2 separate regions of the Homo sapiens genome follow, and region 1 is linked to region 2. The links are contacts of gene promoters, found by promoter capture Hi-C in human tissues and cell types (Jung and others, 2019). All regions are on one chromosome and are shown on one strand. Each heading gives the region's core, a stretch centred on a gene start or on the middle of the fragment in contact. The rest is flanking DNA. Distances are from core to core; before and after follow the strand shown. Region 1 overlaps ADARB1 (adenosine deaminase RNA specific B1). Region 2 holds the start of ITGB2 (integrin subunit beta 2).

Region 1 (5,936 bases), core at 959-3,458, 230 kb after region 2:
GCATAATTTCCTTAGGTGCCATGTGCAGTTGTCACAAGCATTGCACTAATTGGAATAATGAATTAGAAAGTGGATGTTGGTCATTATTAGGAAAAGGTACTTTGTTACACGAGACAGTAATTGCATTGTGGCAAGAGAAAGAATCTGACTAATTAATTTGTCTTTTTTTTCTTTTGCCTATGAGTGCTTCTTCTGCTTGACTCCTCCCCATAATCGGACTCCTTCCAAGACAGCCTAATCTTCAGGGCATTTGGATGCAGCTGCCTTTTGTTCCAGAGACACAGGCCATCTCAGGGGAGGTATCTCCCTGGGGCCTGAACAGCGTTTTTCTAGACAAGAGGAGGCTGAGGGCTGTGGGTTCTGCTTTGCCAGCCCTGAATGCTGGATCCCGAGTGGCAGAGGCACCAAGTGCTGTATGATGTGTGTATGTGATGTGTGTGCATGTACATGTGTGTGATGTGTGTCCCTGCTCGCCCCAGGCTGGCCATGGTACTGTGCTAGTCACAGACTGGCTGTGCTGATCAAGCCAGGCACAGTGGAAAATGGGAAGATGTTGGCGTTTGCCCCTCCCTTGGCTGTGTGTCATTCACCTGGGGCATGAGCTGTGCCCCTGCTCTGCAGTAATGAACAAGGCAGGTCAGCATTGGTCCGAGACACGTGAGTTAAGAGAGGAGGAAGAGCACTCTCTGGGGGCGGGGGGATCCATTTGTCAGTGGCCTGCAGTTTCCTGTCCCAGGGATTTCACTGGTGACATCCTGACCACTCACCTGCACTTTATATGGAGCTGTTTTCATCAGCTGGCGTCTGCTGAGCCTCTGCATTGTGTTGTGTGGTAGCCTGTTACTTTTTGCAGTTTTATTTTCTAAACTGTACTCTTTTATTGATAGATTTTTTGTATTAGGATTTCCATTTAAACAGGACTTTGGTACGTCTGCTGTGGGAGATTTGTTTCCCTAGAAGATTCACGGCTGTCGTTCTCTCCCCTCTGCTCGTGGTGTTTTACTGTGACTGCGCTGAACGGTTAGCTGTCACATGTCATTCTCTGGGTGGTGTGCTCTGAAGTCATTGTGGTGTGTGGGCCCCTTCAGCCTAGTTCTGCCTAACTGCGGCATGATGAATGGGCCCGAGGCAGAGGAGGAGGCTCCCTCGTCGGTAGGGGCTGCTGTTGTCGCAGCTGCCGGCACACGGAAGTGAGTCGGTGTGCTGCTGCCCCGAGTGACTGAGGGACAGAATGAGGCTGGGGCCGGCCGGACTGGCATTGGCGTGTCTGCATGGCGTCGTCCACCACTGGGCCTTTGCACATGGGGACCTTTTTCAGCATCATGGGGCGTCGGTATAAAAGGAGGCGCAAGAAGCGCTCTGAGAGGAAAGGTAATTCATTTAGTTTTTATTCTTCAGTGTGAAGCATTTGTCTTTAATGCAATACAGAAGTGTTTTCTGGGATAGACGGCTTTGTGAATTAATCTTGCTGATGCCAGTTACTTCCTATTTTCCCTTTTTGAGTGCCTTTTTTGTTGTTGGCATTTTATAGAATTTTAGATAGGGGCACTTAAAAAGGAAGATTCAAAAACATGTCTGTAAACATGAATAGAAATCATTTAGCTTCAGAGTCTGGAGTATGTCTTTGGAAAGATATTTATAAAACTTTAAAGTTTGTAGCTTTGAGCTACAGAAAAGGTTTTTCTCCCAGAGACAGATGCTTATATGAGATTTCCTTTGCCGCACTCTTCATTAATGACTTTTCTACATTAAAACTGTTCTTCATGCTGCAGAAAGCAAGGCTGAGCAACCATTGTGAAAATATTTCCCCTTTAAAAGAATGGAGAGCAAATTCCTTACATTCTGCACTCCAGGTTAATACCAGTTTTTAATTCAACTTAATGTTTTAAGTCATTAAAATCTAGATTTTTTTTCTCAAAACCAGATTCAAAAGTTGTCCATGACTATACACATCACAAGCTACTGGTTTTTGGACCTAAATTGCTGCTTTAAAAGCTGTTGATGTTTTTTTTTTCTCTTTGTATAATATGAAATAATTAATAGAAAATGCCTTAGTGAAAAGATGTGTCTAGCCCGGAGAACAGCTGAACACAGGCGTGATCAGTGCCTCTGCCTCTGTGTCTTCTGGGCGCCCCCTTAGTGTCCCCCACCCGACAGGACTGGAGTACAGCGCTTCACCACCACAGGGCCCTTGGGACATGCTGTGGCAGGAGATGGCTGTTTCTTCAGGAAGTAAAATTAACCTCGGTTTTTTGGTGTGGCTTCCTAAGAAGAAGAACAGATGAATCTCAAAGTCAGCAATCTTGTAATAGTACCTTGTAATATAACAAAGGTGACAGCACCTAATGGAAGTCTGTGTCTGGGAGTGGGGAACCCCTGACCCTGGGCCCTCTGTGCACCGTGCTGCCAGGTGCTTGTGTCCAGGGCTGGGGATGCCACACCCTCGATGCTTTCCTGGACTGACGGGCGGTCTCAGGACAGCCAGTCTGTGCGGCCCCCTCTGCCCTCACCTCAAGAGGTCACAGCATTGGCCTGTTTTTGTTTCCTCAGTTAAGCTTTGGAAATTGAGATGTCACTAAGACAGGCAATAGGGAGTAAAACAAAGGCACAGGCAAAAACTAAAGGACATTTTTACCAAATACCCTCAATTTAGAATTACCACCACTTTTCCCATGGACACTCATCACTAATTATTTAAGTTGGGAAAAATATTGAGAAGTACAAGAATAATTCTGTCATCATTCTTTTGGAATTTACTGTGATTCAAGCTTAAAATGTCTTTTTCATGCATTCCATAATCTCATTCTGCAGTGGGAAAACCACTCTCAAATATGTTGCATTTTCAGACCAAGGTTATAAGAAATTGAGAGGGTTATAAGATGTAACAATGAGGCCCACATATTAAATGGCTTGTGTTCCTTGGTCATTCCTATGTGAGTAAGTTCATTGTGAGTGTTACTAAACAGTATCATGTTATGTGTTAGTTCTCGCTGTTGGTATTTTGTAATAAGCATTATCTTTGAAACTAATAAAAATACCTTTGAAATTATCGATATTATTAAGATTGGCCATCACATTTATACCAAACTGGCAAAGTTTTATAAGATGTAAAATAGTCTTTTATACTGTATATTTCTAAGGTACTGTAAATCATGTGTATTGCATGGTTTTTTCCCTAAGACTGATACAATGTACGCCTTTTAAAATGTAATTCTTTGATGAAAACAATGTAGTAGCAAGTTACGGGTTTTAGTTGGCTTCAGTGGCAATATAATTTCAGTGATTTTTTTCATCACTCCTGGATTATACTTGCAGTTACTGCCTTCCACAGGGCAAATAATTGACTGTTGACTGTGTGTGAGCCTCAGATGGGTTAGCTTAATCATCAGGAAAATAGGGCTAAAGAATAATGTACCATTTAAATACTGGCCAGAGTCCCCATCAAGCAGACACTGCCACCCTGGCAGATGCTGCCAGCACGAGACCTGGGAGAGGTCTGGGAGCCACAGGGCAGGATTCTGAGTAGCAGTTAGTGCCCATATATGGAGCGCTTCCTGCACCCAGCCAGTGCTCAGTGGCTGCTGCTGTAGCCTCATTCACTCACAGCACTGCTGCTAAGTTCATGACCAGTGGGAGGGGAGAGAGATGGGAACAAAGAGGCAGTCCTTCAGTCCCCACCCTCCTGCTGTCTGAATAGCATCCTGTATTTCCAGATGTATTTCTCACTGAGTGTTTTGTTTGTCCCCTATGTGATAACATCCTTATCTGTGCTTAGTCGTGTATGCACATGTGAAGACCACTGTCCTCTGGCAGCAGTTCTGAACTGTGTTTTAGTCTGAGGCTGGGCTCCCCCATGTTTCCAGGATAGAGGTGAACAGGGTGTGGGGACCTCTGTGGAGCTGGAGGTCCAAACGTAGAGAGGCCTGCTCCCCCTGAGTACTTCTGGAGGAGAAGCCCTGGAACTCCTGACCTTCACCCTTCACAGAGTGAGCAGAGCCAGTTGGCCAAGGGGAGGAAGCAGGCGGCTGTCGTACCAGCCTCCTTCTCTGGTGCCAGCCATGACTCTCACCTTACAAAGAGAGCAACCCTTTGTGAGATGCAGAGCATGGTAGCACCTGGAGGTATAGGACGGGATGGCATTTATCCACCCATCCATATACCAGTCCATCTACTCATTGTAGTCCATCCATCTGTCCGTCAACCTATCATCCATCTGTTCACTCATTTACCCATCTACCCACCCATCCATCATCCATCCACTCACCCATCCATCCACCCATCTACCCATGCATCCATCATCCATCTCTCCATGCATCCATCATCCATCTCTCCATCTAGTCATCCATCTATCTGCGCATCTACCCATCACCCATCTATTCATCCATCCACCCACCCACCCACCCATCATCACCTATCATCCATCATCCATTCATCCATCCATCCACCCACCCACCCACCCATCATCACCCATTACCCATTATCCATCATCCATCCATCCATCCACCCACCCACCCATCATCCATTCATCCAACCATTCATCCACCCACCCACCCTCATCACCCATTACCCATCATCCATCATCCACCCACCCACCCATCATCCCCCATCATCCATCATCCAGCCATCCACCCACCCACCCACCATCACCCATTACCCATCATCCATCATCCACTCACCCACCCACCATCACCCATCATCCACCCACCCAACCACCCACCATCACCCATCATCCATTCATCCATCCATCTACCCACCCACCCATCATCCATTCATCCATCCATCCATCCACCCATCATCACCTATCATCCATCATCCATTCATCCATCCATCCATCCACCTACCCATCATCACCCATCATCTGTCATCCATCCATCCATCCACCCACCCACCCATCATCACCCATCACCCATCATCTATCCAGCCATCCATCCACCCACCCATCATCACCCATCACCCATCATCCATCCATCCATCCACCCACCCATCATCACCCATCACCCATCATCCATCTATCCATCCACCCACCCATCATCACCCATCACCCATCATCCATCCATCCATCCATCCACCCACCCATCATCACCCATCATCCATCATCCATTCGTCCATCCATCCACCCACCCATCATCACCCATCATCCATCATCCATTCATCCATCCACCCACGCACCCACCCACCCACCCATCATCACCCATCACCCATCATCCATTCATCCATCCATCCACCCATGCACCCACTCATCATCATCCATCATCTGTCTTCCATCCATCCACCCACCCACTCACCCATCACCCATCAGCCATCATCTGTCATCCATTCATCCATCCACCCCCCCACGCACCCACTTCTCTACATTGTTCCGTTCATCCAACAAGTACTCATTACACCCTTCTCTGCATGCTGGCACCAGGGGTTTGAACATGCTTAGGGAAGATGGGGGTAATGGGATGGCAGTGGCAGGGGGCAGCCACAGCTTTCAGGCTTGAGGTTTGTTCTGGAATGGGCCACCTGAAATCCCACTAGGTGCATGAAGAGGATGGATTTATGTGATTTGTCACTGCTGCACTGTATGTGTAGTAGTGGGGAGGGATATTCTCCAGTATCTGGTGAGAAAGGAAGACACCATTCTCTAGCAGTGTCTGCCAGGAGAGGGGCCCAAGTAAGGAAAGTTGAACCCCCAGTGGACAGCAGCGTTATGGATAGAAGGCCCAGATCTCCTAGAACCCGTTGTAATGGCTATGTGTGTACCTTTCACTGCATCTGTGCTGATGGGCCTCGCAGCACAAGAAAGACTCTGCTGCCTGGGCAGGAGCTCCTCTCAGCTACAGGGTGCATTTCAAGCACAGGTGCATACACTCTAGGTTAACAGTTGAAATTCTAAAGTAAGCATGTAGAAGTAGATTTGTGAAATTGCACTTGAAATACCATGGAAATTG
Region 2 (6,030 bases), core at 2,691-5,190:
AATAGCTATTATCTCTCTAGTGCAAAAGGTAAATGGTAATCTTCATCTCTAAAGAGATCTTAGAAATTAATAACAAAAAGGTAAATACTCCATTCAAGGATGTTTCAAGGGTGTGGCACCCTGAGCAGGTAATTCACAAAAGAAGGAAGAAAACTGGCTAAGAAACATATGAGTCACCCCAGGAAAGAACCAGGGATTTCAGCCAAAATATCTTGATTCCCTGTGTAGCCGTCAACGTGTAAGATGCTTTGGCGGTTTCGGTGCCTGCGCTATGGAGTCCCACACAGCAACGAAAACATGCAAACAGCTGCTCAGGGCAGCTTGGCTTCGTGGTAAAAGTGAATTTATGGGGAAAAAAAGAGAGACACAGTTCCAAAATATTCTGCATTTCTCTGGGTGGTGGCACTATGAGTATTTTCAATTTTCATTATTCCTGTTTGTATTTTCCACCCTTTTTGTGATAAATGAATAAAGGACATTTTAAAAATGGAATTTCATGGTGGCCGACGAATTATGCTGAAATTGCTCCTTCGGATTCCAAAGCTACTGGCTTTCTTGTTCCCACTGTGACGTTGATGAGGACGCTGCTTCATGGCAGTGGGACCTCCCTGCTGGCATGGGCTTGTTGCCACTGTCACTCACCCATTCACCCATCCATGGGACAGGGGCTTGCCAGCCTCTCCTCTAGGCACGGCGCAGGGGCTGAGAGCTGCACTCCAGGACTCCTGGACTCTGCCCTCTGCTGAGACTCTCAGCACCTCTTTTCCCCAACACCTACCCCAAGTTTCCATCACACACAGAAACCTCCACCACTCCCAACACCAACATGTGTCCCCAGCGAGGCTGTTTACAAATCAGCTGGGCAGGAAGGTGTTCCCCTGGGGCTAACTCTTCTGCACTCTCAGACCCTGAATGGCCGGAGAGAACACGCAGCCCGGGGTGGGCAGGGGCCTCAGCTCAGGACAGCACCAGGGCCCTCTGTGCTTGCTCAGGGCCTGGGCTCCACACACATGGGCTCGGAATCGACAAATGCAACCACCTAATCAATGCCCCGTGTCAGTGCCAGTTTGTGCCAAGCAGAATGGGAGGGATAATTGCTGGCACCAGGTCCGGCTTGGGGTGGGTATCACCCACAGCTCCATAATTGCTAGGCGCCCACTGCAGAGCCCCTTGAGTTGGGGCTTCCCAGCGACCTGGCCTGTACCTGCTGGGCAAATGCCTGTGTCACTGACCCCTGTGGCAGCTGGCATTCTCCTCCGGGAACGGGAGCCAGCCTCCGGTGACATGGCCTCAGGCAGGACCACGGTTCTCTGACACAGGACACGAGTGCAGCAAGGGGGGCCCACACAGGACCTGTTCCATGGAATCGCCACAGGCGTCACGCTGCCCCATCCACAGAGGCAAATGTCCCACAGCCCTGGTACCTGGTGGGGCCCGGCCTGGGCCAGAGTGGACAGACCTGGGCCTGGCAGGAGCCCTGGGGAAGTGAGTTCAAGTTACACGGTTGACTATAGAGACAGCTGGAGTGCGCACAATTGGCCAGACCACCCCTCCTGTTTCACAGATGGGGAAACTGAGTCACGGGGGACCAAATAGCCTGCTCACCCCATGCCCCTTCCAGACAGGGTGCAGATAGGGCCCCTCCCATCTCCTGGATGGCCGCGGCCCCTGTGCAGAACTTCCTTCATGGGCACCTCGCTGTCTGGGGGCCTCTTCCCCAGGGAGTCTCCTGGTGGTGGCCGTGTTGCCTCAGGCTCACTGTGCACTAGGCAGGTCACGTCGATGCCGCCTGAGGGGCAGGGGTTACCACCCTGTGGTTCAGGTGAGAAGCTCCAGGCTCAGGAGTGTCCAGCTGCCTGGGCAGTGTTTGGATCTCATGCCAGCCCCTGCCAGGAGGCCCTGCTTCTCCAGCCCAGCCCACGCCCACCAGGAAATGCCCCTATTTACTCCCTTGAGGCAAAGGCCCTTGGGTGGCTAAGCGTCCCCTCTCCCAGCACTCGGAGCTGAGCGTCCCCTCTCCCAGCACTCGGAGCTGAGCATTCCCCTCTCCCAGCACTCGGAGGCACCTGCAGTTGCTCAGCTGTTCATTGAGTGCTGGGAGTGGAAACTCATACGCTGAGCGGCAGTGACGCTGCGGAGCTGACAAACCCCACAGCCCGCCCGGTCACCTGCTTCACCGAGGGCCACAGCCCCCCCGGGGTCAGGTGGCCACAGGGGTCCTGGCCATGTGGGACATCTGTTCTGTGGCCCTGCTCAGGATGGCACCCGGCGGGGACTGGCCCTGGGGCCGAGGCATGGGCTCAGCCGCCGCCCTGCAGGGACGTAGCCAGGGACCTCTTCCCAGCAGAGGGACTCCCCCACTCATCCCCAGAATACTGAGGGGCACGCTGGGTGCCAGGCTGGCAGGGACCCTGGGGATTCTGCTGTGAGCTGGATGGGGAAGGAGTTCCTTCCTAAAATGTGGAGTCTGGAGGCCACTCTTGGTAAAGTGCTGGCCCCCGGGGATTCTGCAGTGAGCTGGGCATGGATTCTGCAGTGAGCTGGGCTTCACTCATGGTGAAACGCTGGGGTGACGGCAGACAGCCCAGAGCTTCTAGCAGCTCATTTCTGTGAAGCCTCCAGAATCCGGCCTCAGCCCCCAAACCCGCAGGCGTTGCGCCACCGTCACGGGGAAGGCGAGTGACAGCGAGTGTCCCCTATGCCCCCACAGCTCGCTCCCAGGCTGAGCTCTCCGGCCATCCCCCCCCTTCCCCATTGCAGCCATGCCACCCCTCCTTCTCCCCACCCAGGAACTGACAGAGGAGAGGGGCCCCGGATGGACAGGGACAGCAGGGCAGAATCCCAGCTCCCAGATCCAGGGGAGGGGGGATTGGGTGTGGGGACGGTGGTGCAAGGGGTGGTGCCAGGGGTGGAGGATGCATGGGGAGGGCTGGCCCCAAGAGTGCAGTGTTGGGGGAAGGGGGCCAGGTGGGCCTGGGACCCAGGGGCGTGGCTTCAATCCCCCTCCCACCAGGACCTTGGGAATGGCCTCCAGGAGCCTGTTGTGGGGAGGCCAGGGTCACCAGCTGAACCAACTCGACCAGAATCGCACAGCGGTGCCCGCTCCCCTACAGCAAGACGTCACCCAGGGGTCCCCACGGAGGAGGCAGGGAAGCTCGAGGGTCCCAGAGGAGCATGGAGCATGTGCCACACCACACCACACTACATTACACATGTGCACCATACATGTACATACAACAGACTCCCCACATCACATGCGCACACTCGCACACCATACATGCACACACACACACCACACTACGCTATGCCACACACGTGCACCATACATGCACACCATGCCACACTACACACACGACACTACACACCACGAACCACACCACACCATATCACACACCACACACTGCGAGTCGATCTGGAGATGGAATCGCTGTAGCCAGGCGGGGCAGCATGCAGACAGGAGGGCCTAACACAGGCAGGCGCAGCAGGTTCACAGAGGAGGCCCCGGGAACCTGCCTCCTGCCCAGCCCGGAGCACCAGGACCCCCCAGCCGTCCCCCTAGGGGCTTGTGGGCCCAGCCTCTTCCTGGCCTTGCCGGCCTCACAGCCCCTTGTCCTCCCATGCCGGCCCCATCCTCAGCCGCAAGCGCTCCCAGCACACCATGTGGCTCTGCTCTTGGTGGCAGGCACTTCCCCTTGCCGGGTCTCAAAGGGGACCCTGGAGCAGACGGTCTGGAGACCCCTTCCTGCCAGACACCCCTGGGCCGGGGCTATAAGCAGGGCCACCAGGGTCACTCCAGGCTGGGGCAGGAGAGTGCTTCCCTCCAAAAATCACCGTGGACATAGCGGGGCCTCTGCACACTCACCCTCGGTGTGCTGGAGTCCTCGGCGGTGCTCCTGGCTGGGCGTGGGGGCTTTGCTACCAGTCTGCCCTGGGTCACGTCTAGAAACCTCAGCTGGAGGCGCGGGTCGTAAAGTCCTGACACTTCCTGTTCCTCTCAGCTCCTCCTTGGAGGAAGTGGTGGGTTGCACCACCGTGGCCCTTCACCCCTGCCCCTCTCCGCTCTACAGCAGCTCTGATGTCAGAGAGCGGCCCCTTGAGACAGGTGGGACATGTCATTTCTCACATGAGGTCCCGGCGAGAAGGACCTGCTTCCATCAGATTCACACTTGGGAGAGGGGCCCGGCCTCCAGGAGCGCCAGGCAGAAAGGGCACCCATTAGGAAGAAGAACACAGAGGCCATGGGAGTGAAAAGTTTGATGCTGGAAAGCAACAGTAGCACATTCTGCTACAGAGCGGAATGAAAAACCCTGGGGAGCAAATTCCTGAGCCAGAGAATGGAGCGGAGGAACCAGCCAAGGAGGATAAAGAGGTGGGAACAGGCAAGAAAACCTGGGTGCGTGCACGCATTGACATCCACCTGCATGTGAGGGCGGGAGGGGACAGAACAGGGACAGCGAGGAGGAGACACTCAGGTCACAGGAGGAAGGCTGCGGATCTGGGCGGGGACGTGGATTGCGAGGCCACTGAACACCCCAGGGATGGATGGATGAGGTCCTGTTAACTAGGGACATTAGGAGGATACCACAGAACACGAAAGGGAAAATACTACAGGCTCAGAGAGAGAGAGAAGGGAGAGGAGGAGGAGGAGGAAGAGGAGGGAAAGAGATTATACCTAGAAAAAAAACCCAAATCAGACATCTTCAGAGCAAGGACTCAGACACATTACTACCCTAAACTCTGTTTTATTTATTTATTTATTTTTATGTTTTCAGTTTTTTTTGAGACAGAGTTTTGCTTTTGTCACCCAGGCTGGAGTGCAGTGGCGTGATCTCAGCTCACTGCAACCTCTGCCTCCCGGGTTCAAGCAATTCTCCTGCCTCAGCCTCCCAAGTAGCTGGGATTACAGGCACATGTACCACCACGCCTGGGTAATTTTTGTATTCTTAGTAGAGACAGGGTTTCACTATGTTGACCAGGCTGGTCTTGAACTCCTGGCTTCAAGTGATCCATCCACCTCTGCCTTCCAAAGTGCTGGGATTACTGGCGTGAGCCATGGCTCCCGGCTCCTAAACTCTGTTTTAAAGATGTCTTGCAGAAATAGACATGAAGAAATCCATGAGAAATACAAGAGCAGATGATACAAAGTTGGGCAAAGAAATAAGTAAAAATTATGATGTCATAACCTGTTGATTTAAAAAATAGTGGTAAGAATATTAACGCTGTGAAACAAAACGCCTAGAGGACTGGGTTGGGAGGGGCCAGGGAGCACATTGCCGTTCCATCCTATCTGGGGAGGAATATAGATGCTTGTCAGTGGGCATTTTGATAGAAAATATCTAAGTATATATGCTAACAATTCAAGAGTCTCCTTAAGAATAAAAATAGCATGTATATACCTGAAAAAAAATATGACAAATCTTTATTTTGGGCATGGTGGCTCAAACTTGTAATCCCAGCACTTTGGGAGGCCGAGGTGGGAGGATCACTTGAGCCCAGGAGTTCGAGACCAGCCTAGGCAACATTTGGAGACCCAGACCCTCATCTCTACAAAAAAATTTTCTAAGAATTCGCCAGGCATGGTAGCACGCGATATGGTCCAGGCTACTTGGGAGGCTGAGGTGGGAGAATTGCTTGAGCCCAAGAGGTTGAGGCTACGGTGAACCATGCTTACACCACTGCACTCCAGTCTGGGTAACTGAGAAAAAAAAAAAAAAAAAAAGGCAAATCCTTTAAAAGAAAAAAGTAAGGGAAAATAGAACAAACAAGAAAGGTAAATAAAAACCAAACAATAAAACATTGGGAATAATTTCAAACCCATCAGGAATCACAGCACCTGTGAATGGGTTACATTTTCTTGTTTTAAATCAACAAGGTCTTGCGTTGGGTTTTAGAAATAAAGAGACAAAACAAGTTCCAATGAAATGTTCTCTGTCAAGGGTATCTTCTCATTACAGACTTAGCCTAGAAAATAATGAAGAAGGACAGAAAGAGAATACCATTCTACTACACCCGCTGATGACTTAAAGTAAG

Evidence for each region. The method cuts DNA at HindIII sites, captures the fragments that hold promoters and counts their contacts. A contact is called where the count stands out against the background at its distance.
Region 1: a contact is called between a fragment that was not itself captured here and the fragment with the promoter of ITGB2 in region 2, in 3 of the 25 tissues and cell types used here (dorsolateral prefrontal cortex, heart left ventricle and spleen).

The regions. Positions count from the first base shown.
Region 1 is chr21:45,151,338-45,157,273 of GRCh38, forward strand. All of the region lies in intron 2 of ADARB1 (adenosine deaminase RNA specific B1), which reads left to right. Among named protein-coding and RNA genes, the nearest start is that of ADARB1, 80 kb to the left of the region's middle. RefSeq lists an enhancer at 16-872. The HindIII fragment of the contact is 4,613 bases long and covers 1-4,515 here.
Region 2 is chr21:44,916,959-44,922,988 of GRCh38, forward strand. ITGB2 (integrin subunit beta 2) reads right to left here and starts at 3,941. Exons shown (of 16, transcript NM_000211.5): 1 at 3,863-3,941. It overlaps ITGB2-AS1 (ITGB2 antisense RNA 1), which reads left to right and starts at 4,077. Exons shown (of 3, transcript NR_038316.1): 1 at 4,077-4,369. RefSeq lists an enhancer at 536-1,448 and a silencer at 2,532-2,591. The HindIII fragment of the contact is 46,650 bases long and covers 1-6,030 here.